Regions from separate parts of the Homo sapiens genome. Here all the other regions are linked to region 5. Evidence: promoter capture Hi-C in 16 types of primary human blood cells and fetal thymus (Javierre and others, 2016). All regions are on one chromosome and are shown on one strand. Each heading gives the region's core, a stretch centred on a gene start or on the middle of the fragment in contact. The rest is flanking DNA. Distances are from core to core; before and after follow the strand shown. Region 1 overlaps RBM33 (RNA binding motif protein 33). Region 2 has its middle 28 kb from the start of SHH. Region 3 overlaps RBM33 (RNA binding motif protein 33). Region 4 overlaps RBM33 (RNA binding motif protein 33). Region 5 holds the start of PAXIP1-AS2 (PAXIP1 antisense RNA 2). Region 6 overlaps RBM33 (RNA binding motif protein 33). Region 7 overlaps RBM33 (RNA binding motif protein 33).

Region 1 (3,788 bases), core at 993-3,492, 800 kb before region 5:
CCCGGCTCAGTTTCCCCTTCACCCCTTTCCAGTGTGCCAGTTTCAAGTGTGCAGTTGCAGGGTACACTGTTCCCACAGGACCAACCAGCAGTAGGCAGGCTCCTCCCCAGGTGCAGAAAGAAGGGCTGCTTCTGTAGCTGGCCTTTTGTCACTCAGTTCTCATGCCAGGGAAGTGCCAGTTCTCTTTAAATTTTGCCTATAATTAGAACAAGCTAAAAGAGGTCCTGATCTTTCCATCTTCATTATTTAATAGGTGAAGCCCTAATATTTATTACTCCTTTTCTTACTGGGCTTAGAACTGAAAAACTCCATTTCTTAGAAAATTCTGTAGTTCTTCTAAGTTCCATGATTGTATCTTACTGCCATGAATCTCATCCTCAATAGTACAGAGGTCCTCACTTATCCACAGTTTCACTTTCTGGGGTTGAGTTACCCACCATCAATTGAAATCTGAAAATATTAAATGGAAAATTCCAGAAATAAACAATTCATAAGTTTTACACCATACACCTTTCTGAGTAGCATGATGAAATCTCTTGGCATCCTGCTCCGTCCAGCCCGGGGAATGAAATCATACCTTTGTCCAGAGGATCCATGCTGAAGACACTCCCTGCCTGCTAGCCCATTAGTCACTTGGTCAACGTCTTGGTTATTAGATTGACTGTCACAGTACTGCAGAGCTTGCATTCAAGTAACTCATATTTTACTTAATAATGGCCCCAAAATGCAAGAGTAATAACTGTTTTATTGTATGATTAGCTATTGCTGTTCATCTCTTATTGTGCCTAATTTGTAAATTAAACTTTATCCTAGGTATATATGTACAGGAAAAACCATGGTCTCTACTGGGGGTCTTCCAGTACACGCCCCTCGGATAAGGTGGGCACCACAGCACTGGCCATGCGGCTGCTGCAGCAGGACTCTTTATAAACCTTCTTTCCTACCTTCCATCAGGCAGCTAATTTCAAGTCCTCAAAAAGATTTTTCTCATTATAGATAAGGCAAAATGTAACTGGGAAAGTAGACTGGCCTCCACTCCACTCTGAGCGGAGAGTCAACCAAGGTTCGATTTTTTACTTTGCCACAGGTTGTGATCAGGGAAAAGGACTCTGTCTTTAGCTCTTTCATCCTTTTCTAAAAGGAAAGAGTTACTGAATTAGAAGAAACTCAAAGACTTTAGTCCACAAACTTAGTTTTCCATAAAATTCCAAGCTACCTGAGAACTAGGTACATCACCTCTTAGGTCTCTAAGCACTATCAGATTCCCTGGAAGATTTCCCTGGAACTTTAATATTGTGATTTTCATCTCTTCCCAAAACTTTCTTTCCTTTAACTGACTATTTACATGCTGTCTAAATGCACAGTCACTGGCATCTGAATGTTACTGGTACGTAACAAAGCCCCGAAAATTCTCTCATGATAGTTTTTCCACACTCAGTGGAAAATAAAAGCCTTTAAAATCCATCACTAATGTTTAAGCAGAACTTTATTCTAACTTACAGTGATCCTGTAGGTGCTCAGGCTGAGAAGCAGCACCCATCATCTAACCTGACAGCTCTCCCAGCCCTGTCTCCATCCCAGCCACTTACCAGCTACAGCCTTGAGCTCATGACTGAATCTGTCTGGGCCTCAGTTTGCTCATCTACAAAACAGCAATTAGTACCTACCTCACAGGGGCAGGAAAGTCCTTAGGACAGTACCTAGCAAATAACAAAAGTTCACCATACATGTCGTTATCATTTTTACACCTTTTTGTAGACAGCAGCCCAGACTGTAAATACGATATATAGCTTCTGACATATTTCCATATCTTCTGTCATATTTCCATGTTTCCATATATGGTAAAAACCAAATCAGTATAGATTCCCTGCTTGCATTCTTATTTCTGAGTTCAAATCAGAAATCCCTCATAAAGTACCAGCAAGTCCTAGAAACTCTGTCTCTTGAATGTCTCCAATCCACTTCCACTTCTCTCTGCCCTTCAACTGCCGGGTCCGTGAGAGCTGAGACCAGGCCTGTCTTACACATCAATGTGTTTCCATACTTGGCCCAGTGCCTGGCACACAGGCGGTCATAAATATTTAATGGATGAATGAAATGCCTGTTTGTAATAGCAAGGTATTCCCCGAGCCTCACATTCTCAACCTGGAAGTACTGCGGCATGCTGTAAAACCAGCTGCCCACAAAGCACAGGGAGAGGTGCTGAATGGCTGAATGAAGGAAGGAAGTAACAAAGGTTAGGATGTACTAACCTAGACCTCGGGCAGTGAACTGCCTGAGGCTCTTAAGCTGAGCAGATGTGAAACACATACAGTGCACAAGGACCAAACAGAAGCCAAGATCTGGGGTGATCACTGGTTTAGAGACAGAAAAATTAACAGAACTGAGTTCTTACATGTATGACAGAATTTTTTTTTTTTTTTTTTTGTTAAAGAGACAGGGTCTTGCTTTGTCACACAGACTGGAGTATAGCGGTGCGATCACAGCTCACTGCATCCTCAAACTCCTGGGCTCAAGTGATCCTCTTGCCTCAGCCTCCAGAGAACCCGGGACTACAGGCATGAGCCACCATATCTGGCTAATTTTTAAATTTTTTGTAGAGATGGGGTCTCACTATGTTACCCAGGCTAGTCTGAAACTCCTGGCCTCAAGGGATCCTCCCACCTTGGCCTCCCAAATCACTGGGTTTACAGGTGTGAGTCACTGCATCTGGCCAAGAGAAATTATTTTAACTTGTATTCTAACTATATAATATCATTAGAGAAGGACCATGCTGACTGGCTTCTTCACCCTGCAGCTGGGAGAAGAGTGAGGATCACTGGTGGGAGGCCAGAACTTCCATGCTGATAGGGTTTGGCTCTGCATCCCCACCCAAATCTCATCTCGAACTGTAATCCCCACGAGTGGAGGGAGGGACCTGGTGGGTGGTGACTGGATCATGGGGGCAGTTTCCCCCACGCTGTTCTCATAATGGTATGTGAGTTTTCACAAGATCTGATGGTTTAAAAGTGGCACTTGCCCCACTTTGCTCTCTCTCCTGCCACCACGTGAAGAAGGTGCTTGCTCCCCCTTTGCCTCCTGTCATGATTGTAAGTTTCCTGAGGCCTCTCCAGCCATGCGGAACTGTGAGTCAATTAAACCTTTTTTCTTTATAAATTACCCAGTCTTGGGTATTCTTTATAGCAGTATGAAAACAGACTAATACACATGCTGTCTCATTTAATCCTTATCACAACCCTACAAGGTAGGTATTATGCTCACAGAAATCTTCTGACCATTTAAATAACCTTCACTTAGTATACGGTTAGAAAGTGGCAGAACTTGAATTCAAACCCAGGCTGCCTACCTGCAGAGCACACTGTGAATTCCTTGGTATGAACAGCAAATGGGGAGGGATTTTTCTCACATTCCCTAATCAGTCCCTAATCATATGTTTTATCATCACATATGTAAGTGTAATTGTGCAAGTCTACGTGTGTTTCAGAGTCAAGAAAACCAGTAAGTACTACATCAAGTCAAAAGTCAGACAGTCATGGAAATTTCATGGCAGGCTTTAATAAGTAAAAGAAATTATCAGTACTCACCTGATCAATCTACAAGAGCTGCATTAAAGAGGTAAGACCAAAGAGCTATCTAAGATTTAGAAAGAAACCGTTTACTCAGGGTGAGTAAACAAGGCAATTTCTGACCTTGGAATTTAGTTAAATAGAGTAAGAACGGAGAAAGAAGGATTTGCAAGTGTAGCCTGGAGTATGTACACGCTACAGGCAAGGTGCTGTCTCCTCAAG
Region 2 (3,887 bases), core at 911-3,410, 860 kb before region 5:
GCCTGCCACCACACCCGGCTAATTTTTAAAAAAATTTTCTTCTTATTTTTTTTTTTTTTTTTTAGCAGAGACAGGGTTTCTCCACATTGGATAAGCTGGTCTCAAACTCCTGACCTCAAGTGATGCGCCTGCCTCAGCCTCTCAAAGTGCTGGGATTACAGACGTGAACCACCGCGCGCGGCCTTGTGTTTCTTAATGTAGTATTTGGTTCACCAGTATTTTATTTAGGATTTTTTTGCATCAATATTCATAAACATTATCGGTTGGTCATCTTTTCTGTGCTATCTCTTCCAGGTATAGATATAAACGATATATTTGCTTCATTAAAAGGATGTGGAAATTTTCTCATTTTAAATGCTTTGGAACAATTTATGCAGCATAAGTTATATCTGGTCTCCAAACATTTAGTAGAATTCCTCTGTAACATGTGGGCCTTTCTGCATGCCTAGTTTTTTGATCATTTTATTTTTTTCTGTAGAGATTGACTGGTATGAGCTTTAGATCTCCACAGCAGTTGATACTGATACACTGTTTATCCTAAGAAATTGTCCATATCACATAGGTTTTTAAATTATCTGCAAAAAGATCTACAAAGTAGTCTTTTATTGCTTACAAAATCCCTTTTATGGGCAACGAACTTGAATAGGTGTTTCTCCACAGAAGATAAACAAATGACCCACAAGCATATGAGAAGATGTTCAACCTCACTAACCATTAGGGAAATGTAACTCCAAATCACAATGAGACACCCCCTCACACTCATTAGGGTGGCTATGACACACACAAAAACAAAGAAACATAAAATAGCACATGTTGGTGAAGATGTGGCGAAATGGAAGAAACCCTTGAGCACTGTTGGTGGGGATGTCAAATGTTGTGGCTGCGGTGGAAAAGAGGATGACAGTTTCTCAAAAATTAAACATAGAACTGCCATGCGACCCAGCATTTCCACGCCCCCATACAGACACAGAAGAATTGGAAGCAGGCTCTTAAAAAGACGTGTGCACACTCATGTTCGTAACAGCATTCGTCATCGTCAAGCATCCCGTGTCCACTGATGGATGAATGGGTAACAAATGCACTGTGTGTTTATAATGGAATATGACTCAGCCTTGAAAAGGAAGGGAATCCTGACACAGGCTGTCACATGATGGACCTTGAGGACATCGTGCCAAGTGAACCAGGCCAGTCACAAAAGGATAAGCACCATAGGATCCCAACCACATGAGGCACTTATTGTCGTCAAATTCAGAGGCAGAAAGTGGAGTGGGGGCGGGGGGTGCTGGGGGCTCAGGAAGGGGATGGGAGTTTGTGTTTCATGGGGACAGAGTGTCAGTTCTGTAAGAGGAAAAGGTTCTGGAGATGGATGGTTGGGACAGCTGTACAGCAGTGTGAACATATGTAATAAAACAGAACTGGACACTGACAGTTAAAATCATATATATTGATGTATAATTTTGATGCTACATGTTTTACATAATTTGATGTTACGTTCTACAATTTTAAAAAAGTCCTTTTTATCAATAGCAATTCTTGTGTTTCTTTTTATTTGTACATTCTTTTTTCTTAATTAGCTAGCGGTTTGTCTATTTCACTGATTTTTTTTTCTAAGGACTGGGATTTTAATCTATTAATTTTGTTAAATAAGTGTTTTCCCTTGATTAAAGACTAATGGGAGAGAAAATTTCAGGAAGCTTCACATGACATCATCTGAACGGCTGTCATCAGAGGCTCCCTGGCAAGGCTGGTGCCATCATCTCAGGGGCACGGCCATCCTGGGAAGCTGAGGCGAAGCCTGCCTTTGGTGACTGAGGTGCACATTGGCAATGTAAGGGCCAGGGAAGAAGCCGAAGCCAGGAGCAGCACTGGAAGGCACACGCCTGTCATCCCAGCCCTTTGGGAGGCCAAGGCAGGCGGATCGCTTGAGCTCAGGAGTTCAAGACCAGCCTGGGCAATGTGGTGAAACCCCATCTCTACAAAAAATACAAAAATTAGCCAGGTGTGGTGGTGCACGCCTGTAATCCTAGCTACTCGGGAGGCTGAGAGGGGAGGTTCTCTTGAGCCCAGGAGGTCAAGTCTGCAGTGAGTCAGGAATGCACCACTGCATTCCAGCCTGGGTGACAGAGAAAGAAAGACCCTGTCTCCAAAAAAATAAGGAGAACAAAACATGGTATCATTCTTCAGACACCATCCACAGATGCTCTCCCTTGATGGTGAGAAAAAATTCTCTCCATTGTCAATTTTAGAGAAAAAACACGACTAGCGTCTGAGATTGAAAACATCCAGGCTAGCTTTCGAAGCTGGGTGAAGAGCTTAGGTGCGGTTTTCATTACACCTCCTCAACAGCAGCTGTTGTTACTTGGAATCAGAGAAGTGCTCCTCTCCGTCTGGTCTGAAGGGCATCTGCCCAGTCCTCTAGTCACCTGCAGTGGGTCGGGAGGTAGGGCTTTCTTTCTGGAGGGGTTTCCTCAGTGTCCAGCTCTGCAGCCTGGTGCGACGACATGTCCAGAATGCCCCACTGACTTTCCTGTCTGGATCTACGTCGGACCCTAGAGAAGAGCCGCAAGGACCTCTGCCCTCTCGCTGCGGCCTGCAGGCAACACCAAAGGTCAGCAAGAAAGCTTCCTTTTTGAGCGTGAAGCTTCAAAACTGCCGTGCTTCTCATTTCTTTTAAGCACACAGCAACGAGCTGCACCTCAAGGTGTACAACACATGGCTCTGTGCTTCTGTTCCTAGAGCCACCAATTGTCAGTACTGTGTGTTTCCTACAGAACTCTTTTATCACTTACTTTTCCCTTCAGACGTGACTGTCACTCTTTCAAAACATGCAAATACATGTTCGAATAAGAAAAGGACCTGGCCGCACACGGTGGCTCACACCTGTAATCCAAGCACTTTGGGTGGCGAAGACAGGCAGATCATTTGGGGCCAGGAGTTCAAGACCAAACTGGACAACATGGTGAAACCCTGTCTCTACTAAAAATATTAAAAATTAGCTGAGCATGGTGGTGCACACCTGTGGTCCCAGCCACTGGGGAAGCTGAGGTGGGAGGATCAGCTGAGCGCAGGAAATCAGGGCTACATTGAGCTGTGATTGCACCACTGCACTCCCGGTGACACAGGCAGAAACCAAGGGTGAGATTTCAGGACTCAGCGGCCATGTTTCAACAGGAATGATCAGTGCCACACACCTGAACCACTTCCAAACCTCCTGTGTCTGGGACGGGGACACCCCTGGGCCTGCCACAAATACACTGCCTCACGTAATTGGTTGCACTAAATAAATACACACCAAGACCTCCAGCATGCCAGGCACTGCTCAGGGGGCAACTATGGGAAATAACAATACCTTCTTCAAAGGATCTACCACTCTTGAGTGTACCCTTAATTCAAAGAAAGCCCCATTTTCTCCCTGAAATGTCAAGGCGTTTTTTGCCCATGTTCTGTAGAGATCCCATTACCCAAAGTACAGGTTTTAAAAACAAGGAATGACTTATTCTTGAACTATGGATTAAAGAGGAAGAAAACTGCTTTGGGCTCTAATCACATGGCATTTTCAGATTATGACTTAGGCTTAAAAATTCAATTAAATCGGATTTGAGAAATTCACCCAACACATTTCGCTTTTGTTACCTGTTGCTTCCTCCTCCATTTCAATTTCCCAAATTTGCCTCTTCTCTTGCTTTCTTTCTTCCTTACTTAGGTCCAAACTAAGGCACTTTCCTTTTCATCCTTACGAGAACGGGGAAAACAGGGTGATAAAATGTATCTTTGAAAGCAGCCACCGTCTGCCCACTGCAGGCCACCCTGCTTGTGGAAGGCCCCCCGTTTGCGTTACGGAACCAGAGTGGAAACTGCAAGGTTTTATTAACATGGCTTCCAAATTA
Region 3 (3,538 bases), core at 928-3,427, 820 kb before region 5:
AAACAACTGGTGAATCTGATAAAGAACGTATGAGAGTTTCTCCTACTGTTCTTAAAACTAAAATTATATTAAAACATTCCCTTTCCCACCTCCCCAAGCTCCACAAAACGGATCAGGTATATACATATCATTCCAAAAGTGGGAGTAACTTTTGAGAAGGTAGGAAGGGAAGAAATTTACAAATGCAGTCCAAAGCCATAAATGCATGATCCCACAAATAAACTGGGACCTTCGGCATGCAGCATTTTGACAGCCTTTTAAAAATAAAATACAAGAGCATCACAATTGGACAGCTGGCTTTCCTGCGGGGGCATTCTGTGCTGCTCCCATTTCTCTGTGTGGCCAACAGAATAAAGGACTGTTTACTTAATTTGCTGCCAAATTCTTAAAATTTTCATTAACTTGATTAGAATAAAGCAGCTGAATTGGTATTTGCTTTCATTTTCTTAAAGATCAATATAAACAGCCACTCCAAAAAAAAAAAAAACCATTTTCTTTTTCCTTCAACTAAAAGGGTGGTAACATTTATTGAGTTATTATCACATACTCAAGCACTGTACCACTAACTTTACATGATTATGACGTTTAATCCTTACAAGGATCCTGGGAGGAGAGTTGGTTCTCATTGTACTGATGAGGAAACTGGGATTCATTGAGGCCAGGCAACCAAGGTTACAGAGATGCAAAATGAAAACCAAGATGCAAACACTTCAAAGACTATACCATTCTCCCTAAATAGGAAGACAGAAACTGACCGCCTAAGGCAAAGAATTTCCCCTGGCACTTGTTTGTTCTAATTCCTTTTTCCTGTGTTTAATCACACAGACTGGTTTTAGATGACTATATAAGTTTACACTAAGTAAATATTTTATACTTTTTATATTTGCTGTTATTACTTGAATTGTTTTTCTGGGAATTATGTATAGGTTATGAACAAAATTATAATGTAACAAGGTTGTTCTTTTGGTTTCTTAAACACTGAAAAATAGCTTTCTGAGAAATGGGCAAATGGAGAATATTTCTATATTCTAAGTAATTAAAAGAGAACCATTCCATGAAATATAATTCTACAGATGAACTATTTACTTAATAGTCAGGAAGGCACATAAAATTTTAGCAGTATTTGCTGCTAACACTACTTATAAGCAGCATTAATTTGTTCCTTTTGTAATCTCACCTAGCAAATCCAGACAGTAAAATGAGTGGGAAAAAAATGGAAATTCACGTACACAGAAATTGATTAGCCTCATAACAAAAGATCTCTTTCCATTTCAAATTCCCCTAATATTTCCCTTCAAAGTTTTAAATGCAAAATGTGACTTAATTTGATTCACACAGAAATGTTCAAGGATAGACTCACACAGCACATAGCAAGTGATGGCTATTCTTAACCAGGACACAATATGCACTCCCTTTCCTGGGCCAGCAGCCCAGGTTCTGGAACCGGGATGATGGAACCCCAGCCACTCGCCAGGCCTATATTCAAAGCTGAGGCTACTTACCATCCAGGCTGCGTTTTCATGTATCAAATCCTTCTCAGCCTATTGTTCCAGGCAGTCACTATCAGTCTGTTGCACTGGCAACCAAAATGAAACCTAACCATCATCATCATCATCATCATTATCCTAGGAGCCCCCATTAAGCATTTTCCGAATCAATCTAGACTGCTAATAGTAGAATATTATCCCCAATCAAGAAACAAATAACACCATGAAAAACACAGCAGATAAAATAGACAACTATCATAGACAAGGGTGAAGAGCGTAAGATTCAGCACTAACCCACAGGTGGAAGCCCAGCTTTACCACCTAGTAGGTGTGCGGCGGCCCTAGGCTGGTTACGTAGCCTCTTTGAGATTCAACGCACTCGCCTCAGAAGGATGTTGTGAGTACATGCTAAACACTCAATAAATAATAGCCACTACTATTATCTGGCATAAAAATCACATAATTTATTTCTAAAAGGGGCCTTAGAAGCATTCTACAAAGAAAATGGGAAGTTATGAAATGCCTTCTGTGTACCAGAAGCTTTCATTTACTGATGCCTCACAGCAGACTTACTAACCCCACTTGCAGATTGGAAATTAAAGTTCAGAAAAATGAAATGATTGTTCGGGGTCCCAAAGAACAGACAACTATTCAAACAGGAGTCTTTCTGCACCCAAAGCCACACTGTTTTACCCCATCACATGACTGCGTGCACAGGTGAGCTCTCAGTCCTAGAGAAAGGCTCCAATCTCTATACAGCAAGAAATTTCAGAGCAGCCAACGGCAAAACGCAATGCCAACAATAGCCCTTGAATCTGCATAGTCACTTTTCAAGCTTTAAACCAAGACGTTGACCCTAGTCAACACAATCGTGTAAGAAACAATACCAGGAATCATGCTGCTCATCTCTTTTCGAAAATGTTCCCTATGCACACGCATACTGCAGCAGCAGCCACAAAGGGGACCACCAAGAAAGGACTAGACATTCTCTTACAATGACAAGGACCAAGGAAAATCACCTGAAAGGCGATATAATTAACCACAGGGCAGACTACAAAAACCTATGGTCTTAAGACTCAGCCTCTCTCACCTTTCAAAAAACCCAGTTTAATAAAACCCAACGATAAATTATTTCATTATAAGTAATGACATATGGAAAATATAGAAGAAAACTCCATTTGATTCACAATTGCCTCACAGACATGAGTACACTCACAGAAACCTAATTAAATTGTATATCATAGTAAGAATGGCAAGAAAACTGTGCTTTCATAAACATGTGAACAATCCTGTGGACACATATTTCAACTGCAATCACCCACCAGAGCACAAGTTCTTGAATGGCACTATGCAAAGATAGTTTGCTATCCTGTCTAGAGACGTGAAGAATAGGAGACTGCTGAATGCAAAGAATAATTGAATTAAATGCATTAGATTTAGTTACACTAGTTAAATTAGAAAAAAGGGAAGGAGGTAATTTAGGTTAGGATATAGTATAGGTTAGAAAAAATGGGAAACGCGAACCAACAATAAAATGTTTTCATTAAGTAAGTAATCGTAAAACTAAGATGTAGATAATAATATCCTGTATGGGTGCCATGCACAAGTCAATCCTCCCCAGATGCCAAGCTCCTGTCAGCCAAGGTCTGCTCAGCCCTCGGCTCCTGAAGATTTTCATAGGCAGGAAACATCCCTGAGCATTAAGACCACAGCCCCCATATGCAGAGAATGCCTCTCCAGCAGCCAGGAACAGAAACACAAGCCAAAATAAATGCTTCCTTTTTGCATTGTCTGAAATAAGCACAATTTGCAATTAACCACCATTAGGAATATGTTCTCTCAAAAATAGTCCTCACCCACAAAAAAACAAAAAACAATGCCATTAGGCAAATCCTATTTGTTCTGGTTCAGAGAAATACGAACAAGACATCTTCCCTGCTAGGTCAAAAGTGCCAATGTGCTATTGGAGGGGACTGAGTAAACCCTAAGATACGAACATGTGGGCTAGTTGACACTTAAGAAGTAAAAGATAAAGAGCTGTTCCAAAGTAC
Region 4 (3,750 bases), core at 421-2,920, 770 kb before region 5:
ATATAGGATATATATAGCATATATAGAAACAAATAAAAAGACAACCCACTTTTTTTTGAGTGAGAGACTAAAACTAGAAGCAAAGAAGATATACGGAAGTCCAATCGCACATGGAATGGTGCTCAACATCACTAGAGGTCAGACAAATGGAAACTAAAACCACGATGACACACTCACTAGAAGGATTAAATCAAGAGATTGGCAACATTAAATGATGAGGAACAATGAGGTACTCCCCCACAGTACCGGTGGGAGTGCCAAATGGTACAGCCACTTTGGAAAACCAATAGTGGTTTGTTATAAAAGTAAACATACCTCTAGACCGTCTCAGCAATTCCACTACTTGTTAATAACCAAGAGAAACAAAAACATACATCCACAAAAAGATGGGTAATATGATCCTTTTAGTAGCTTTATTCATAATAACAAAAAAACTGGAAACAACCCAAATGTCTATCATTGGGAGAATGAACAAATGGGGTACATCCATAAAATGGAATAAATTATTAATACACACAACTACTTGGATGAATCTCAAAAACGTGCCGAGCAACAGAAGCAAGACACAGGAGCGCACACACACTATATGACTACATTTAGGTGATGTTCCAGACTAGGAAATGCCAATCTAGGTATAGAAATAAGAACGCTTTACTCTGAGGAGTCAGGACTGAACAGACAAAAACATTCTGTGTAATGGAACTGTTCCTTATCAACCAAGGGATGGTAACTTGGATGTATACATGTATCAAAACTTACTGTACACTTTACATCTATGCTTATCTCTAAGTGTAAACATTATCACCATTTCACAAGTATTTTAAGTGGTGCAAATATGTTTTTAAAGCTTCTCTCATTTCTTCCTCTACACATGCCAAAACTATGTGAAAATGGCAAGTCTTTTTAAATAACTATGTTAGAAGACAATAGCATAACTAGCACTAATGTGGCCGCATTAACTATAAAAGACTGATATTTAGTCTTTATAATTAGATCTAACTTGTTTCAAATATAATGATTTCTCTATATGAACCAAGGAAGAACATTAGTTAAATAAAAGGAGTCACCTAAAATAGGCTTTTCAATTAAAATTAATTAATTGCTTTTAAGTTCTATAATTAAGATTCTAATATAGACCTTAACAGAGCTCCTAGAATGAAGTCATCTGGAAAACCGCAACACCCTTTCTGCCAGTCTTAAGCAATGCAGACCAAAGCGTGCGGCAACACAGATGGGGCACAACAGGATGCTCGGCAACAATGCAGATATTTAGGAAAGGGAGTCCAGGAACTAGGAAGACACCAAAACAGACGGATATGTGGCACATTAAAAATGGTACTCCTCCCTGAGGACTACACAGTTTATTTAGACTTCTAAAAAAGATGGATCACAAGCCCTCCAAAACCAAATCCTACAAAAGTTGAAATACTAGCAACTTCTACTTCTCAGCACTTAAAACAGTATTATGCGCATGAGTTCCCAATAATTATCTCATTGACTAATATTCTACAATGCAGCCGGGAAAAAAAAAAGCCCCAAATATTTATTGCTAGTGGAAAAGACCAGCACATCACCAGCCTCCAGGAAGGACAACTGAAAGTCCTAAGATCAAGAGCATCACAAAGAACCTGCCATCATCACAAAAGCAAGCAACATAAACAAAGTAAACTAAAACCATCAAGGAAAGGATAAAAAAAGTAAATATACGAATACCTTTTAAAAATATTTTTCAACAGTAAATTTAAAATTAAATTATGAGATACACAGTTTAAAAGTAAAAAGTAAATAATACATCTAGCAGATGGTATAAAAAAGACAAAATACTTAATATGGATGAGCTCTTACTTTCTGCTAGAAAGATTCATACTGAAAACAACCCTTAGGAAGTTTCATGTGAGAGTGTTAACAGCAAAAAAAGAAAAAAAAAAAGAAAAAAAAATCACAAGAGTGAAACAGATGCAACTTCTAGCTCTTTGCCTTCCAAATTCAAGGGTCGGCGTTTAACCACCTTATGTTTCCCTGTCTTTTCATATTTAAAAAGGAAAAAGAATATTTCTCGCTTACAGTAAAAAAATTTTTAAATCAGAAAATATTGGAATACAAAGACTAAATAATTCCACCATTTAGTAGTAATCATTATTACCATTTCCATCTGTAACTACATAGACTTTTTGTTTTTTTTGAGAATTACACACACATATTTAGATTTGCAGTTACAGGGGGAGCTGAAGGGAAGAATTCTATCATCTTGCTCTTTACACTTAATGCATCACGAGCACCTTTCCAAGTCAAACAGAACTAAGACAACACTTGGTATACTGCATTACACTTTAAGGTTAGGCCATGATTTACTCTTTTATACATTGGTTCCATTTATTTTCAATGCTGCAAACAAATACTTGATACATATACCTTTGAACACAGATTAATTCTTTTGGATAAATTTGTTAAAGTGGAATTGTTGAGTCCAAGGACAGGAGCTTTAAAGCTTTTAATACTGTCAAGAACAGTGAAGAGTATAAGATTTTACTCTACTTGCAAGCTAACAAGTTAGTTGGCCACCATTTCACGGAAGCTGTAAGAAAGCTAAGACTCTTCGTCAGAAATAAGGAGACTAGGACAATGTTATCTGTATCACTAGCAGTAGCATTCTGCACCAGCTCCAAGAAGCCCCACTCCCAACTGGGCCGTGTGAAGAGAGCCAGGTGACCCTGCACACATAGGAGGTTGTGTTACAGGAAGGACTTCTCTGCACAGGAAACCCTGAATGTGTCACAATGGGGAGTAAGCAAACCTGTCCTTGACTCCAGAGGAAGACACTGCATCTGTAGCTGTCTGCTACACCAGAATCCTCTAAAAGATATTCCGGAACAAAGGACAGGCAGTGATTTGCTCGCTTTGCTCACAAAACCTGCAGCTAAATGAAGGACCCTCAGAAAACTGTCTCCTGACAATGTTACCAAAACGCTCCCTCAAGTGAATCAGACTACATCTGATCAATAATTCTGAGGTCTGTTAATATTAAAGTAGGTTAAAATTCTCCATTTTCTTTTAATTTTTACTGAATATATTTTCATACACCTATTGTTCATTTGCTTAATCAAGTCCTGAATTACTGTCCCACATTATTTGTCCTTCTTTTTCTCCCTCCTCCCCCACACAAGAGACACTGAAAATCAAAGAAAAAAAAAATTTTCTTTTTTTTTTTTTGGACAGAGGGTCTCACTCTGTCACCCAAACTGGAGGGCAGTGGCGCAATCACAGCTCACTGCAACCTCCACCTCCTGGGCTCAAGTGATCCTCCAACCTCAGCCTCCTGAGTAGCTGGGACCACAGGTGTGTGCCACCACACCTAGCTAATTTTTTGTATTTTTGGTAGAGATGGGGCTTTGCCATGTTGCCCATGTTGGTCTCCTGAGCTCAAGTGACCCGTCCACCTAGGCCTCCCAAAGTGCTGGGATTACAGGCATAAGACACAGCACCCAGCCAGGTCACCATTTTTTATAGTAGCTCTCTTTTGTTTTAATGTATTAATTAGGACTGTCCAGGAACTGAAGTTAAAAACGTCTAGAACTAGAAGGCACTTCCAGAAGGCACCCAGGCAATGATAATACTTGTTAACATTCTTTAACTGCCTTGCAATAAAAGTTTACGTAACCATCATTTGAAAACTGAAATCTACAAAACCTTTCCCTATTTTAAGATATGCTACAAATATTATAGAGTATCAGGGAAGAATAAAGAAAATAT
Region 5 (3,806 bases), core at 1-2,500:
TTCTGTCTATATTATTCCTGCCTGGATGACATAGTGAGGTCTTCACTGCTGGAGAAGGGAGGGCTGGTGGGCCAGAGGGGAGACCCTGCAGAGGTGTGCAGTGTCCTTCTCTGCTGTTCATCTCAACCCGCTGTGTTAGGAAACCAGGAGGAAGCCCTACCTGGAATGAAACAGGTGCCTAGAATGAAGAGGGTAAGGACAAGGTTTAAGACTGTGACACCTGTTGCTTAAGAGACGCATTTAGGAGTGTGGCATGTAGATCCCAAATGTCCGTTTTGTAAAAGTTGTTGTTATTGTTTCACTTTTGTTGTTGTTGTTTGTTTGTTTTGAGATAGAGTCTCACTCTGTTGCCCAGGCTGGAGTGCAGTGGTGCAATCACAGCTCCCTGCAGCCTCAACCACCTGGCTCAAGCACTCCTCCCACCTCAGTCTCCCGAGTAGGCGGGGCCACATGTGTGCACTGCCATTCCTGGCTAAGTTTTCTTTTAATTCTTTGTAGAGACAGGGTTTCCCTATGTTGCCCAGGCTGGTCTTGAACTCCTGGCTTCAAGCAATCCTCACACTTCAGCCTCCTAAAGTGCTGGGATTACAGGCGTAAGCCACCACGCCCAGCCTGTTGTTATTGCTTTGAAGGAGTTCAGGAAATGCCACCCCCATGGCACTTGGGAGTGCTGATCCCTGTGAGCTGAGGGCACTTGGGAATCAGCGGATGCAGGCAGAGGTTTCCTCTGAGCTCCCCTTACCTGCCTGAAGACGGATCCTCCAAAAGGAACTCAGCTGTCATGAATCGCCTCCCCAGGAATCTCGTCAATCTGGGAGGATTAACACAGATCACAGGAGAGGACACTGGAGGTGACATCAGCCCAGATGACTATCACCCGTTCTCCCGAAGGCGGCTCTGAGATGTTTACGACCTCAGAGACATTTCATCCACAGAGCAGCACAACCTTTACTCACCAGACAGTCCCTCCCCAGGCTCTCCCATCACTTGTGTTCTCACCTCCCCTGGAAGCCCCGGGAACTTCGAAGTAGGCTTCTGTGGACTCCTGCCACTTCATCAGTAGCTGGGGCCCTGGTACCAGCACAAACTGCTTGCATCCAACTGACTTCACCAGACATACGGGCGTCTTTGGTAAGACCGCTCTCAGGTTTTGAATCTCCCAGGTTTGGGCTGAGATTCAGATTTTATTTAAGTAAATGAATTTCATGCTCAGTGGGACTGATATTGAAGCCGCCATTTAGGGCTTTAAGGCAGGAGTTTCGCGTCATTTCTCTAAAGATTCTGCTATTGGCAGGTTTGTGGTTTCACTTTTCTATTAGGTTAAGTTTTCGTTCGTCTTACTTGCTCTTTTGTAACCTTTTCTCTCATTGGACATTTTACTTGCTCAAGTTTGTAACCTTTTCTCTCATTGGACATTTTTTTACTTGCTCAAGTTTGTAACCTTTTCTCTCATTTGACATTTGGTTAAAGAGAAAGCAGTTTTCTTTGTAAAAGGAGAAAGTGAATGTTTGTGGCTTAAGCCAAATTTGTGGCTTTAAACCAGCCAGGCTTTGGATCTTGGTTAACATTGAGATTTAAAGTTTCTTCCTGAGTCACCCAAAATTTGTAAAAGGTTGGAATGAGGACGTGATAAGCTGAAGACAAAAAGGACTCTTTCTCCCAGCTGAAAGGCACCTTAGGCAATGGAGGTAACACAAGGGTGTGGAAGCTCACAACAAACCCCAGAGAAGAACTCACAGGGAGAGCTGCTTAACCCCCGGGGCACACAACACACAAGGGGTTCGTCACCCAGTGCCTTGAACTCCCAGAAATGTCTGGGTTTCTCTGAGGTAGGTAAGAGGGAAGAAGCTACTTGTAGGTGATACCTCCAGGAATAATCCCTACTAAGCAGCACACTGGACCCCAAACACTTTTCCCTTTTAGCCTTTGGGCATTTTAAAAGAGAATCCAAATTATGAGCAATTATCCATCTATAACCAAGCCCTCATTAAGCAATGCACCTTTGGAAACTCCAGCGGGGTTTATGTACAAGACTTATGGCGCCACCTCCTGTCGATAGTTGGAGAAATGGTCTTATTTGACCTAAGAAGATCCTAAATTACAATGATCAAAGAGAATTATCTTTGAAATAGCTAGATTAGTTTATTTATATGCACAATTTTAAAAAGCCAGCTATGGAATCAAATAAAATAATTAAGAGAGTTACTTCCAATGGCACCCAGAAGCATCCAAAAGAGGTTTTGACAGAATTCTTCCCTTAGAGGAAGAAAATAAAAAGCACTCTAAAACCATTACTGAATTTTAAAAAACACTGAAATGTCTTCTTCTCTCCCTGCTCCCCTGTCTCTCTAAGCCTCCTTGTCAGAACTACCCAGCCCTGATTGACCTTCTCCTCCTCCTCCTCCTGCCCCTCCTCCTGCTCCCACTGGTTTGGCTCCATTTCATCCAGCATCTGGTAGAGGGGAACCTGCTTTATCAATCATGATCAAACTTACAGGCATAGTTAAAAGAATTCCTTGATCTTCACCAGGTTCCTATTGGTTTTGCTAGGAAATTTGAATTAAATATCCAAGCTTATGACCCTAGTTATTCTGACTTCTAGCAACAGATTCACATGTTAGTAGCAAAAATTAAAGCTAAAGGCTGGCTAGACAAAGCTCACTGGAGAAATCTGTTAGGGATCTTCATAAATGTTCAGAAGAGGACCATAGACAGGCTTGAAGAACAGCAAAGGCTTTGCATCAGGCTATCTCCTCAGTTTTTCAGAGTAGTCAACTGGAACAAAATACAATATCAACAAAATTCAGATGAGTCAGTAATATACTTTGAGGGCTGTGGAAAAAATTTTAAAGAATATTTAGTTTTATCCGAAGAAAGCTGTGCTAATCATCGAAATGATACTCGACTCCAGTTTAACAAATGAGTTAGATGAATTGGAACTAACAATGAAAAGACAAAGTTGGGCCACTTCTGATACTCATGATTTGGTCAGTCTCATTGACCGGTTATCTGATACCTTAACTGAAGAAGAAAGAGAGAGGGAAGCCAAACAAAAGAGCGAGGCTAATACAATTATGAATTTACAATTAAAACAACTATTCACACAATTTTGGCCTTCACAATACCCCTAGAAACTCCCTAATGGACCTAACCTTCCACTTTGCAATTTTTGCAAAAAGCATGATTACTTTCAAAAGAGTTGCCAAAAATGAAAAAGGAAAGAATGTTAACCAGTGGAGGCAGAAAAGAAAACAGGGGTGCTCCAAGGAACTTAAAGGGGCCTTTCATTTCCTCCTTACTAACACTGGGAGAAATAAAAATTATTATAAATGGAGAACTAACACAAGCACTTATTGACACTGGAGCCACATTATCTGGAATTAATCCCATCTTGGTACAAGGTCCCATTCCTTGCAGTAAACAAAGAATTCAAATGGTGGGCATCACAATCCTCCTGTATTGGCATACCAATCTCAGCCTGTAACCTTTCAACAGTGTTCGTTACAAGGAACTCATGCCCTCCTCTTTGTTCCATCAGACCCCATCCATTCAACAGGAAGAAACTGCTTAGAATTATGTGATACCCACATTTCTTTCTCTCAAAGGAAGGAAATATATTTAAAATTAGATTATAAAACTCAACTTTGAGACACAACAGATATTTTAATAAAATTTTCAAAATCTAATCCAATTGCAATCCATATTGCCATGAAAGACAATGAATTATTGCTTAATGAAGAATTACAAAATGTACTAAAGACAGTACTTGATCCATTGTGGTCAGTGTCCTCCATTGATATAGAAAC
Region 6 (3,516 bases), core at 719-3,218, 780 kb before region 5:
GTGCCTCCTCCTCACCAGCCCCGCCCCAAGTGCAGGCCACACCCACTGACCCATTGGCAGCAGCCCTGCCAGCCCGTGGCCACCTGCTTCCTTCCCCATCGACCGTCATCCTCCTTCCTCCCTCTCGGCTCCTTTGCCAGGCTCTCCTCCTGCCCCCATTCCCACGTCGAGTGCCGGGGTCCCAGTCCTTGGCCTCCCTGACGGGTTCTCCTCCTGCCCCTCCCCCTCCTGTGTCAAGTGCCCTAGGTCCCAGTCCTTGGTCTCCCCACACACAGACTCCCTCCTCCAGGGCTCTCATTTGAGGGCAGGGTCTAAATCCACCTATTCACCAACAACCTCCTGACCTGTACTTTGAGCCCAAACCCCTATACTGAATTCTCATCCAACTGCCTACTAGACCCCTCCACTCACATGGCTAGTTGGCATCTCAAATTTAATGCACCCAAAACAGAACTTTTGATCTCCCCACCTCAGGTGATGGCAACCAGACCAGCCCTCTAAATGCTCTGGTCACCTGGGCATCACTCTTACCTCCTCTCTCCCTCTCACACTCATCCAATCCATCAGCAAATCCCATCGGCCCCATCTTCCTACTTCATCCAGCTCTGAGCTCTCTGCACTCTCCCTGCTACCACACTGGTTTGCACCAGGATCATCTGTCACCTCCTAGCTAGACACCAGCTTCCACCCTTGCCACCCGACAGTCTCCTCTCAACACGGCAGCAAGAGGAATCTTCTAAAACATACACAAGGTCACGTCATTCCTCTGCTCAAACCCCTCTAATCCCTGCCCATTTCACTCCCTGCCAAAGTCCTGAGAATGGCTGGATGGCCCCACGGCCCCACGGTACCCAGGTTCTGCATTTCTTCTCTGCTTTGATCACTCCACAAAAGTCACGCTGGTCTCCTTTTGGCTACTCAAACACACAAGGCAGGGTCTCTCCTGGAGGAAGCCCCCTTATACTTGCTGATCACTCTGCCTGCAATCTTCTTCCCTGAACAGCCACATTGCTAACTTACAGATATCCCTCAACTCTTTCCTGCTCAGTGAAGTTCACCCTGATCACCCCATTTAAGATACAACCCATCCCTTCCCCGCATCCTGCTCAATTTCTCACTGCATTTTCATCTTCTAACATGCCACATAAAATACTTATGTTTACTGCTAATAAACAATAATAAGACTGTCTGATAGAAAGTAATATCATGGTTGAAGAAAGCTTTGTCTGGTTTGTTCGTCAATATAACTCAAATGCCAAAAATAGAGTAGTAGCTCAATAAATGTGTGTGTTCACAGGTACATGAAGTTAAAGCTTCGTATAAACTGCTCAAAAACCGTTTCCTAGCTTAAGGAACATGTTTCAGTAATAATCAGATCTGTATTTATTTGATTACAACAACTAAAAGATGGTGTGTCCCCTCTCCACCAGCTGACACTGGAATTGAAGGGGGGCATGCTGCCTGGAACCAAAGAGGGACACTCACCACTGCAAACATCCTCACCGGGAGACTTACAAAGTGTCACAGTTCAGGCATTCCAATAGCGGTCTCTAGTGTATTCTTTGCATTCAGACTGTACTCTCAGCACTTTCCACTCAATTATACAATAAGAGATACACATTTTTAAAGAAATATACTTGACCCATCAAACTAAAATCTAAATGAATGGGGAAGAGCCAAGGAAAACTCAATCTTACAAATTTGAATGTGAAAACTATTTTGCCGCAGAGACGGCTTCAGTGCAATAAACTAATAAATGCCTTCAGATGCACAGTAATCTATAACATAACAGATGCTCCTCAACATAGGATGGGGTTACATCCCAATAAGGCTATCGTTAGTGGAAAAGACCCTTAGTCAAAATGCATTTAATATGCCCAACCAATGAAACATCATAGCTTAGCCTCACCTACCTTCAGCTCAGAACACTCACATCATTGCACAGTTGGCAAAATCATCGGGGCTGGGAACCGCAGCTCCCCCTGCCCAGCTTCGAGGGAGTTTTGGGATGCATGTTGCTACCCCAGGAGAGATCAAATCTCAACATTCGAACGATGATTTCTTCTGAACGCATACTGCTTTCACACACTCATGAAGTCAAAAACGCGTCAGTGGAAAAATCCTAAGTCAAACCATTGGAAGCTGGGGCCATCTATGCTTTACAATAGTAAAAGGAAACACAGACCTTGAACAGGCGTGACCACCGTCCCTTTGAAGTGCGGGTTGATGTGTATGTTCTTGGGCTGCTGTGGAGTCACGGGTGGCGGGGTCATCATCATCCTTGGGGTCTCTAGCTGGGGAGGCATGTGCATTCCCTGAGGCGGGGATGGGTGGTGCGGGTGCTGCACCGGAAGCAGCGGCTGCAGCGGCTGCGGCTGGAACAGGCTTCTGATCGGCTGCTGCTGAGGCGGCGGTGGCGGTGGAGGGGGAGCCTGGGGCTGTGGAGGAATTAACCTTGGAGAATGAGTCTACAAATCACAAAAAAAAAAACAAAAGTTCACCGAAATCAACATTTAAAAGAATGCTGATGTGTTACAAATTTACACTGATTGCATTTTTTAAGTTACAATGTAAGAAGTCTGTAGTAACAACTTGTATCAAAACAGCAGGATAAAGAAGCTTCTCTACTTCTTCACAATGAGGGCTACAGTCTCACAATTGAGTCAATCCCCACGCAAGAGGGAAAACAGCCCCAAAGCACCCAGTGTGAATTTTGAAAAAAAAAAAAAAAATTCAGTTCAGGGAATTGAACTGCCCACACTGAGCAAAGCCCTGTGCCAGGGACAGAAGAGCAGCTGCCACAGCCCTCCCTGTAGCAGCCTTGCATCCCCCTCCAGGAACTCTGGTAAGCAAGGCAGGAGATGTGCACCAGTTACCCTGCTCCAGAACTGAGGCCTGAGAACAGGACAGGGCCACAAAGAGCCTCCAGGAGAGGCTGGGAGGGAGCTTCTCTGAGAGGGTGACACCTGAACTCGGTGATGAAGAAGAGAGAGGTGCAAGGCAGAGTGAGGGACAGATACCCAGAAAAAAGCAGAAGCAGCACAGACCCACCTGCTTAGTAAAATCAGGAGACCAGGGAAGAAGGCAGGAAAGAAGGTAAGAAAATTACACACTCAAAGTGATCAGAGATCTCAATTCGAGGGTGGTTATTTTATCAAACAGTCACTAGAGAGGAAGAAATCAACAACTGCAACAGCTGCCGTGGACTAAATCTTCCCCACATTTTAAGTTCCTACTATACGGTCAGTAGAGAAAGTCAGCTGACCTAGCTCCCCACAATCCTATAAACTAGGTCCTATTTACTGACCTCCTTTTACAAGATCAAGTAGCTGGAAAGGAGAAAAGCCGGAACTGGAATTCAGGCCATCTGATTCCACAGGTTTTGCTTTTAATCACTAACCAAACTGACGACACAGCTAATTAGCAGTAGACCACTACTTATTCAGTTGTCTAATTTAACAAGCATTTTCCCTGAGATGATGCCAAATTACGGAGGGCTTCTAAATTCCAAGTAAA
Region 7 (3,813 bases), core at 407-2,906, 740 kb before region 5:
AAAAAAAAGAGACATGTCAATGATTATTCCCATAAGACTTGCAAGTTTGTAGATCACTTGGAAATTTACCAAGAACTCTACAGCTCAGGTACCTTTTTTTTTTTTTTTTTTTTTGAGACAAAGCCTCACCGTGTTGCCCAGGATGGAGTACAATGGTGCAATCTCAGCTGACTGCAACCTCTGCCTCCCAGGCTCAAGCAATTCTCCTGCCTCAGCCTCCCAAGTAGCTGGGATTACATTATGCCCGGCTAATTTTGTGTATCTTTAGTAGAGACGGGATTTCACCATGTTGGCCAGGCTGGTCTCGAACTCCTGACCTCATGATCCGCCTGCCTTGGCCTCCCAAAGTGTTGGGATTACAGGCATGAGCCACCATGCCCGGCCAGCTTGGATACTTTTACATTAAGTTTGCTATGCTTTCCTCTTTCTTTATTAATAATAAAAATGTATTTTCAAATGCACAGAGAACATTTTATCTTTTTAAGTATGGGGAGGCTTTGCTATAGGTAGTGCCTCACTATACTTCTAATCTTAGTTTTGTACCTTAATATGGGATCTTAATCTCTTTGGGTCTGTTGAATAATCAGTAAAAGCAGAAACTGTAATATAGTAAGTCATATCTAAGCTTTCTCCTATCTTTAAAAACCTTAATGAAGAAGGAAAAGATGCACAATATAATTGATTAGGAAGATAAAAACCAAAACCACTAGAGACCGTTTGACATTCATCAAACCAAAAGAAACTGAAAAAAAAAATAAATTTTAAAAACGAACGAGAACATAAAATCAAATCACAGTAACTAAGGGAAATTAGCTTTGTATAACATGGATGTCGTATCAGTGATTTGCAATTTTTTCTAGCATATTTCTGTTTTAAATGATTAGAAGCCGGCTTTCTCCCTATTTTTACAACTAAAACAGAAACCCTTAGCAAATAAAAAAGCTGAAGACATTTTCCACTGCATTTATTAGAAACAAGATTTTTTTAGTTGATAAAAATGGCTACCACTAGATCATGTTTTTAATTCTGGGGAAATCAATCTCTTGGAAGCAAATATCATTAAAAGTCAACATACAGAAATATACAAAGAGGAAATACAATTAGATGGACTGTAACTCTAGGTGCCAATACTCATGGAGATTTAACTGCATCGATATTGTTATTAGAATTGCTGCTTTATTTTTAATAGGTGCTCTGGTTACAAAATTCTATAGGTATTGAGAAATCAGCAAAACCATTATTTTACCAAAAAATCATGTTTATTTTTAGCATGCCACTTTGCAGAATACTATAATCTCCGGGAATGCATATATGGAGTTATAATGAAATGCATGTTTCTATATAACGCCTTTTAGAACTAAAAACAACCTGACAAATCATTTAATTCATGCACTAAAGACTTTATTCGTTATTTTAAGTTATCCTCCAGTAAGTCCTATATTACATTTTACAGATAAAGAAAACAAGGATAGGACATGAAATAACTTGCCTAAAGTCACACAGCAGTGACAGATGCAGGACAAGAACTTAACAGCCCTTGAAAAACAATCTTTCACAAACTCCTATAGGATAGTTATAAGAGAATAACATATAGCTTCTTCCAACATTTTAAAACCACTATCATCTATCAAATACAATTTTTGTATCTTCAGTGTTCCAACTACCCTCCAGAGGCAGGGAGAAAACAATGCTGTCTAGTCAACAATATTTACAATAACCCCATTTGAAAATTTGATTCCAGATAACCAAAAACACACAAGCACCTCTTTTAAAGACAGGCACTCGTCTATACCATCACCTTAAGTAACTAAAAATGGAATGTGATGCCAGTTTCCCAGGGCAAACTGACAAAGTCATAAAAACAGGCATTAGTAATTATACAAGCAAAAATCTAGAAAGTATCTGTGCCTCTTGCTGACAAGTACATGGAAATAAATCAACCTTTAATAACTACTTATTTTTTCTCAACGAAAACATTTTTAAAAAGATAAGTAAGTGTATCAACTATAAAATGAGTAGAGAAAATGAAGACTAGTACTTGTTTCATGACTAATGAGAAACAGGATGGGGGACAGTGGGATTCAGTACAGAACAACAGCAAGTATAAACAGCAGCCCCAGCGATCCACAGCATCCGCTCAATGCACTTCTGTGCCAGGCACCACTTGACATGTTCCACACACACGAGCTTTTCATTGACATAATACCCCTCTCAGGTAGACACACCGTTGCCATTTTCAAAATGTGAAAACAGAGACACTAAGATGCTAATTTGCCCAAGGTCATCCAGCTAGGAAGTGGTGACACCAGTGAGAGAATCCAAGTCCTAACTACTATGCACACACCCCACAGAAACTACATGTACTTTTCTTCTTGTCATCGTAAAGCTGGACCCTCACAAAGGATGTACACATAAGGAATAAATTTATTACATATGTAAAACTACATCCACTCTTGGCAAAAACAACAATGAACTAATGGAAATGACTGGTCTCCATCTGGCAGTTTCAAAGGGGTGAGCAGTCACTCTGGCTGGCAGCAGCAGTAAGTGTTCTAGGAAATCAAACAAGCACTGGGCTGATGAAGAGGCTTCCTGTGTTCAATTCTAGAGTTCCCTAAAGATTCCACCAGTAATCACTACTTGAGTACGAACAATCTTTCTGGCAGGCATTTCTTATTAAAGCTTACAGACAATGAGCTCTTTGAAAGCAAGTATATTTTTACTTAGAAACAGAAGTTATCCTCAAAGACGTTTTTCAGGAAACAAGTATTTGTTGTCAGCCACTTGGCTACAGCCTTTCAAAACCAGAAGTGAACTTGACCACTGTAAGTGGGGCTGTAGTCTCTGGGTCCTCCCCACTCTAGTCCACTCTCCGTCTTACCTGCCTGCTCTGTGGCTGGATTGCGTCCTCCAGGAGCAGCTGGCACAGCCGGTCCTAACCTCTGGCTTCCAGATGGATTCGCCCATTGGGACGCACCAACATAACGTCACCAAGTAGGAGGAGAAAGACCGGCCCCTCCCCTCTCACCTGAAGAAATAGAGACTACAGTATCCCTCCCCCAACAGCCTTCACTGGGCCCTAGGACACCACTTCCCACAAGGCCGGGGCAGGAACTGGTACTCCCTGGATGGGAATGAACTCATTAGTTCTTTAACCCTGGCCTGTAAATAGACCCGTCATTAAATTTCTTCAGTTAAAACTTTTTGGGCCAGGCATGATGATTCACACCGTAATCTCAACACTTTGGGAAGCTGAGGTGGTTGGATCACCTGAGACCAGGAGTTCAAGACCAGCCTGGCCAACACGGCGAAACCCCTTCTCTACTAAAAATATAAATATTAGCCAGGCACGGTGGCACATGCCTGTAATCCCGGCTACTCGGGAGACTGAGGCATGAGAATCGCTTGAACCTGGGAGGTAGAGGTTGCAGTGAGCTGATATCGCACCACTGCACTCCAGAGCAGACTCTGTCTCAAAAAAACAAAAACAAAAACAAACAAAAACTTTTTGAGTGGGTATCTCTTTCTTGCCTGGACACATGAGACATTCATATCTTTAAAAAAAATAAATAAAACACAATTTCAGGTGTTGGTTCAGCAATGACATCATATTCTTCCAAACACCACTACCAGTACAGCATGGCAGAAGAACTTACCATAGTAATTCCTGACCCACTCTTCTCACCTTCCAAGTGTCTCTCTCTGTGTCATGCAGCACACAGAGAGGCTGTCTTATGCTTAAAACATCAAAAAAGAAATACATGTGGCAAAAGCTTCATAGATGCAAACACGTCACTGAAGACAGTAAAAAAA

Evidence for each region. The method cuts DNA at HindIII sites, captures the fragments that hold promoters and counts their contacts. A CHiCAGO score of 5 or more calls a contact.
Region 1: a contact is called between a fragment that was not itself captured here and the fragment with the promoter of PAXIP1-AS2 in region 5, in 7 of 17 cell types (total B cells, fetal thymus, naive CD8 T cells and 4 more). The highest score is 12.7, in total B cells.
Region 2: a fragment that was not itself captured here is called in contact with the fragment with the promoter of PAXIP1-AS2 in region 5 in 3 of 17 cell types (fetal thymus, M0 macrophages and activated CD4 T cells); the score reaches 8.4 in fetal thymus.
Region 3: a fragment that was not itself captured here is called in contact with the fragment with the promoter of PAXIP1-AS2 in region 5 in 10 of 17 cell types (fetal thymus, activated CD4 T cells, M1 macrophages and 7 more); the score reaches 12.3 in fetal thymus.
Region 4: a contact is called between a fragment that was not itself captured here and the fragment with the promoter of PAXIP1-AS2 in region 5, in 4 of 17 cell types (total CD8 T cells, naive CD8 T cells, monocytes and 1 more). The highest score is 6.9, in total CD8 T cells.
Region 6: a contact is called between a fragment that was not itself captured here and the fragment with the promoter of PAXIP1-AS2 in region 5, in 7 of 17 cell types (naive CD4 T cells, fetal thymus, activated CD4 T cells and 4 more). The highest score is 8.7, in naive CD4 T cells.
Region 7: a contact is called between a fragment that was not itself captured here and the fragment with the promoter of PAXIP1-AS2 in region 5, in 4 of 17 cell types (non-activated CD4 T cells, naive CD8 T cells, total CD4 T cells and 1 more). The highest score is 7.1, in non-activated CD4 T cells.

What each region holds. Positions count from the first base shown.
Region 1 is chr7:155,728,382-155,732,169 of GRCh38, reverse strand. The region is part of intron 9 of RBM33 (RNA binding motif protein 33); the gene reads right to left. Among named protein-coding and RNA genes, the nearest start is that of SHH, 82 kb to the left of the region's middle. RefSeq lists an enhancer at 3,645-3,788. The HindIII fragment of the contact is 4,593 bases long and covers 1-3,788 here.
Region 2 is chr7:155,782,959-155,786,845 of GRCh38, reverse strand. No RefSeq gene overlaps it. Among named protein-coding and RNA genes, the nearest start is that of SHH, 28 kb to the left of the region's middle. RefSeq lists a silencer at 485-685 and an enhancer at 3,774-3,887. The HindIII fragment of the contact is 927 bases long and covers 1,697-2,623 here.
Region 3 is chr7:155,747,681-155,751,218 of GRCh38, reverse strand. The region is part of intron 14 of RBM33 (RNA binding motif protein 33); the gene reads right to left. Among named protein-coding and RNA genes, the nearest start is that of SHH, 63 kb to the left of the region's middle. The HindIII fragment of the contact is 295 bases long and covers 2,030-2,324 here.
Region 4 is chr7:155,691,512-155,695,261 of GRCh38, reverse strand. The region is part of intron 5 of RBM33 (RNA binding motif protein 33); the gene reads right to left. Among named protein-coding and RNA genes, the nearest start is that of RBM33, 49 kb to the right of the region's middle. The HindIII fragment of the contact is 1,641 bases long and covers 850-2,490 here.
Region 5 is chr7:154,925,961-154,929,766 of GRCh38, reverse strand. PAXIP1-AS2 (PAXIP1 antisense RNA 2) reads right to left here and starts at 1,250. Exons shown (of 8, transcript NR_024476.1): 1 at 1,000-1,250; 2 at 743-811. RefSeq lists enhancers at 620-839, 990-1,089, 1,110-1,169. The HindIII fragment of the contact is 7,419 bases long and covers 1-2,575 here.
Region 6 is chr7:155,710,125-155,713,640 of GRCh38, reverse strand. It overlaps RBM33 (RNA binding motif protein 33), which reads right to left. Exons shown (of 18, transcript NM_053043.3): 8 at 2,186-2,438. Among named protein-coding and RNA genes, the nearest start is that of RBM33, 67 kb to the right of the region's middle. The HindIII fragment of the contact is 1,306 bases long and covers 1,316-2,621 here.
Region 7 is chr7:155,669,046-155,672,858 of GRCh38, reverse strand. The region is part of intron 2 of RBM33 (RNA binding motif protein 33); the gene reads right to left. Among named protein-coding and RNA genes, the nearest start is that of RBM33, 26 kb to the right of the region's middle. The HindIII fragment of the contact is 2,057 bases long and covers 628-2,684 here.